2 separate regions of the Homo sapiens genome follow, and region 2 is linked to region 1. The links are contacts of gene promoters, found by promoter capture Hi-C in human tissues and cell types (Jung and others, 2019). All regions are on one chromosome and are shown on one strand. Each heading gives the region's core, a stretch centred on a gene start or on the middle of the fragment in contact. The rest is flanking DNA. Distances are from core to core; before and after follow the strand shown.

Evidence for each region. The method cuts DNA at HindIII sites, captures the fragments that hold promoters and counts their contacts. A contact is called where the count stands out against the background at its distance.
Region 2: a fragment that was not itself captured here is called in contact with the fragment with the promoter of SLITRK5 in region 1 in 6 of the 25 tissues and cell types used here (aorta, dorsolateral prefrontal cortex, hippocampus and 3 more).

What each region holds. Positions count from the first base shown.
Region 1 is chr13:87,670,013-87,672,762 of GRCh38, reverse strand. SLITRK5 (SLIT and NTRK like family member 5) reads right to left here and starts at 1,392. Exons shown (of 2, transcript NM_001384609.1): 1 at 554-1,392. LOC124900338 (formin-like protein 5) reads left to right here and starts at 396. Exons shown (of 2, transcript XM_047430855.1): 1 at 396-1,927. The coding sequence starts at 458. The coding sequence ends at 982. It overlaps MIR4500HG (MIR4500 host gene), which reads left to right and starts at 1,800. Exons shown (of 6, transcript NR_033829.1): 1 at 1,800-1,927. RefSeq lists an enhancer at 1,164-1,665. The HindIII fragment of the contact is 26,915 bases long and covers 1-2,750 here.
Region 2 is chr13:87,626,000-87,628,749 of GRCh38, reverse strand. All of the region lies in intron 1 of LOC124900338 (formin-like protein 5), which reads left to right. LOC124903229 (NADH-ubiquinone oxidoreductase chain 5-like) reads left to right here and starts at 332. Exons shown (of 3, transcript XM_047430846.1): 1 at 332-768; 2 at 837-1,070. The coding sequence starts at 332. All of the region lies in intron 1 of MIR4500HG (MIR4500 host gene), which reads left to right. The HindIII fragment of the contact is 5,299 bases long and covers 1-2,750 here.

The DNA.
Region 1 (2,750 bases), core at 143-2,642:
AAACCCTCTTTGGGGTATGCACTAGGTTTCTCAAGCCCAGGCAGGGCGAGGAGACTGCGAGCAGCGCAGTCCCAGAGGCTGGAGGAAAGAGGCGCCCGGACGCCTCCAGCCTGGGGCCGCCGCCGCGGTGGCGACCGCGGGTTCCGGGGCTCCCCAAAAGGCTCTCCCCGGTGCTCTCCGCGGTAGTCGGAGCGGGCAGCAGGGTTGGGGGGTGGAGAGCGGGGGGCGTTCTGCAGCGGCGGGATAGGGAGGCGGCGGGAGGGGGCGGCGGAGGTCCGGCTGGAGAGGCGCCTCGCGGTAGGGGCCGGGAGCCGGAGCCGGGCGGGGCGGGGAGGGGGAGCTGCTGGGAGGGGAGGCACGGAGCGGGAGGAGGGGGACGCGGAGAAGACTGCCTGGCCCCGCCGGCCCCGCCAACGTGACGGTCAGCCCCGCCGAGCGCTCGCACCCGCTCACACTCATGATCACTCGCACACTCGCTCCAATACGTGTTAAGGCGCGATCGCGGGGTCCCTGGCAGCCTTCGCTGCACCCTCCCCCCCACAGGGGTACTCACAGTTGCCATCTGCATAGGGGGCAACTTTCTCCGACCCAGCTGTGGCCGCCGCCCCCTCCAGCCTCCTCTGGCTCCTCGCACCCTCCGGCCTGGGTTCGCGCCGGCCGGCCCTCCCCTCCCCCCTCGGCTCTCCTCCTCGCCGTCTTCACCACATTCCCCCCTGGTCAGTGGCGCACGCCGGGGGACGAGCCAGAGGGAGCGGGTCGCGGGGGTGTGCATGCATCTCCCGCCTTCTTCTTGCAGCGCACACTGTACATGGTAGTGAGGGGGCGAGCAAAGGTGGCACCGGCCCCTCGGCTGCTCCAGCGAAGGCGGCGGCTGCAGCTCCTGCGCTGTCCTCCGCCCCCCAGCGCAGCGGCGACCACCGCGCTGGGATCCCGCCGACGCTGTCTCCGCGCCGAGCCCGCCGCCGCCGCGGCCCCTAATTAGTATTTGAGAGGCTCTTGCATCCCTTTGGCAGTTTCATCCTCACGGTGTTTGCAGGGTTTTTTTCTGTATCCCTTCCCCAGATGCGGCGCACAATCGTCATTAGTTGGAACTCTCTATCACCGACATCCTTTGGGGTTTCTGGGGGAAGGGGGGGGCGGGCAGCAACCGCGTCGTTCTATGCCTGTGGCTTGTCCTGGCAGCCCGGTGGCTCTAAAAAAAACTCCGAGAAAGTTGCGTCTTCCTCCCGGGCGCCGAGGAGGTGGCAACGCGGTAAGCAACACCGGGTCTCTGAGACAGCTGCTCCGGAGCGGGTGCAGGGCCCAGTCCAGTGCACTTGTTTATTGTCGCGCCTCTGGTGCGAGCCAAGCTGCAGCAGACATGATGGGCCCGGGGCGAAGCGGGCGCTCGGTGGCCGATAGATGGCAGCCGAGGGCGAAGGCGTCCCTGGGCTAGGGCGGCGCAACCGGGGCCCCCTTGGATGTCACATTCGTAGGAAGAGAGAGAAGTCTTGGACCATGTGTGTAATTCGAGCGTGGGACTGTGCAATTCTCGGATTGGGAAAGGGAGGAGTGGAAATAACCCCGGCAGTGCCAGGCTTGCTGGTGGTCAGGAACAGATGATTCCAGCCCTGTGCTGATCGCCTGCCTTCCTCCTGCCATTCAGAATGCTGCTGTCTCGTGTACTTACTGTTAAGGATCCTGGAAAAGGGAGTGGTTCCTCCTAGCTGCAAACAAGGGCGCTACTTTTCTTTTCTCTTTAATAGAATTACGTTTTATAGGTGTGTCTAGGCAACACAAGGGAATGTGAAAGACTTTCAGAGGGAATGTTTGTGAATACATCTGGTGTGTACTAAAAAGCTGGAAAACCCCTAAGTAAATGCAATATCGATAGAAAGCGAGTTTCTTGAAGAGTCATCTGCTAAACTCCACTAGAGTCATCTCTACAGTAAGTATTCTTGGGTCTTTCCATGAAACCAGACACTTCCATCCCCAAAAAGGGGTCTTTACTTTCATAAGACATGTTTTCAATATTTGTAATATTAGACCTGCCGTTCATCCCGGGTATAAGAGAAAAGTTGATAATAGTAAGTGACCCAGTGCAGGCTGAGTGCACATGTGCCTGTTCCTTTGATAACTATGTAGTTAGTTTCTCCATGTAAATATATTTTACCCACTTTATTTTGCAATTAATTACGTCTTAATTATTATTGATATTGTTTTATTCTTAGTAATATTTGGGATAATACTGTGTTATAATCTGGTTAATCATATGTTTAATATTGATATAGAGTCTGATAATATGTCTATGTTCTGAGATGTATATATATCTCAGGTGATGAACATTGCAGTCTCCTGAGGTACTGCAATCTTTTTTGAACTTTCCCCTGCGTATGTTGTGTGAATATATATATTTTTACTTTATACCATAAAAACTTTATTTGGAAGCAATTTTGTTTAAGTATGGGTTATATTCAAGGGAGAGGAAGGAAAGAAGTAATATGTAATTTCAGACAATAAAAACAAAATCTTGTAATGAACGTTTCATTAAATTTAGAAGCATTTGACCTAGGAATGATAGCCACTAGCTGTAGATACATTGCATCAACAAATATAACTTACACGTCATCCACAAAAGGCTTATTTCTGTATTTTTTATTCAGTCATTAACTTTTAACATTATATAAACATTTCAGAAAATTTATTTTAAGTTTAAAATTACTTTTATATTTTCAAAATGAAATGAAATATTTAAATTTAAAATTATATAG
Region 2 (2,750 bases), core at 170-2,669, 44 kb after region 1:
TTATCTCTCAATCAGTATTTAATTCATGTATTTTTAGCACTTAATATGTCACACATGGCTTTAGGGAATTTGCAGAGAATAGGCAGATAATGTCCCTGGTACATAGACGATAACTTCCAGTAGTAGAGACAGATAACAAATACATGAATAAATGTAGTTAATTGCAATAGTAATAAATGTTGTAAAAAATTTAAAGTGGGTCATGTGCAGTGGTTCACACATGTAATCCCAGCACTTTGGGAAGCAGAGAAGGGCAGACTGGTTGAGCCCAGGAGTTCAATACCAGCCTGAGCAACATGGTGAGACCCTGTCTCTACAAAATATATATGTGTATATATATACACATATATACGTATATATGTGTATATATATACACATATATACGTATATATGTGTATATACACATATATACATATATGTGTATATATGTACACATATATGTGTGTATATATGTACACATATATGTGTGTATATATGTACACATATATGTGTGTATATATGTATACATATATGTGTGTATATGTATACATATATGTGTGTATATGTATACATATATGTGTGTATATATGTATACATATATATGTGTATATATGTATACATATATGTGTATATATGTATACATATATGTGTATATATGTATACATATATATGTGTACATATATATGTGTATATATGTGTACATATATATGTGTATATATGTGTGTATATATGTGTACATATATATGTGTATATATGTATACATATATATGTGTATATATGTATACATATATATGTGTATATATGTATACATATATATGTGTATATATGTATACATATATATGTGTATATATGTATACATATATATGTGTATATGTGTATACATATATATGTGTATATGTGTATACATATATATGTGTATATGTGTATACATATATATGTGTATATGTGTATACATATATATGTGTATATGTGTATACATATATATGTGTATATGTGTATACATATATACGTATATGTATACATATATGTATACATATATATGTGTATATATGTATATATGTGTATATATATACATATATATACATATATTTGTATATATGTGTATATATACACCAAAATTAGCCAGACATGATGGCGTGTGCCTGTGTCTCAGGTACTTGAGAGGCTGAGGTGGGAGGATCTCTTGAACTTGGTTGATGGAGGTTACAGTGAGTCAAGATTGTGCCACTGCATTCCAGCACAGGTGACGGAGTGAGACCCTGTCAAAAAAATAATTAATTAAAAGTGGGCACTGTATAAGGTAAGGACTGTAAGAAGAACAAATTTAAGTAAAACAGTTAGAGAAATCTAGCAAAACAAAGCTTGTGAGTTTGCTGAACATTGGATTGATTTGAAGAACATAAACTTTACAGACCTGCAGAATAGTAAAAGATGGTGAATGCAGAAGGAAATTAGTTTGCAAATGTGGCCAGAGATCAAGAAGGACCTGTTAGTCTCTGGTAAGTAACCTGAGCTTCTGTTTGTTTTTTAATTCATTGGGAAATCTTGGGAAGGTTACAAGAAAATAAATTATGGATAATTAGAGTTCTTGTTATTTAACAGACCACCCCAAGCTTTTTGGCATAAAACAATATTTTCTTTGGCTCACCAATCTGCAGTTTGGTGAAATGAAGGCTTATCTTTGCTTCATCACATCATCTGCATCAGCTCAACTGGGAGCTGGGAGATTCCACTTGAAAAAGAAATCTCTCTTCCACGGGTGCAAATTAATGCAGTTGACTAGAAACTCAGCTGGTGCTGAGGGGCAGAAGCCTCTGTTCCTTTCCACGTGAACTTCCTCAGAAAGGCTTCTCTGCTGCACTCTCTGGGCTTGACGACAAGGTAGCTGGACATAAGGTGAGCCTCCCAGGAGACAGAAAGTGGAAACTAGCAGTTTCTTTTATACTTGTTCTGGGAACTGGCACATCATTTTTATCTGACACTATTGATTATGTGTACAGAGTCCACATTTCAGGGAGAGGCATAGACTGTATTTCTCAATGGAAGGAATATTAAATAATTTTGGGACCACACTCTCTTCTGACCCCCAATTATTTACATTTCTCCCACATTCAATATATAGTCACACCAAGAAACCCCAGGATTTTTGTGCCATTACAGCATCAGGAAGAAAATCAACGACTGAGATCTCATCATCTAAATTATGTATATATATATGGATGATGCCCTTTAGTTGCTGTTCCTTGGGTATGTCTCCTTGAGTACAGTTCTCCTTTGAAATAAAGCTATAGGAAATAAAGAGGCAAGCTCTCTTCCCTCAACATACCCAAAATTTATTGGTTGGACAGACATAGGCTAATTACAATTGTCGTTGAAGGGGGTGAGTAAAAAGGAAGCCCAGTCCCTTATCCATAGTAATCTTTAAATCCAGCTAAAAAATATTGCTAAATATTTAAAGGCCAGGTGCAGTGGCTCGCGCCTGTAATCCCAGCACTTTGGGAGGCTGAGGCAGGCGGATCACAAAGTCAGGAGTTCGAGACCAGCCTGGCCAATCTGGTGACACCCCGTCTCTACTAAAATACAAAAATTAACCGGGCGTGGTGGCATGCACCTGTAAACCCAGCTACTCGGGAGGCTGAGGCAGAAGAATTGCTTGAACATGGGAGGTGGAGGTTGCAGTGAGCCGAGATCATGCCACTGCACTCCAGCCTGGACGACAGAGCAGACGCAGATTCCATCGTGCTCTCTCTCTCTCTCTCTCTCTATATATA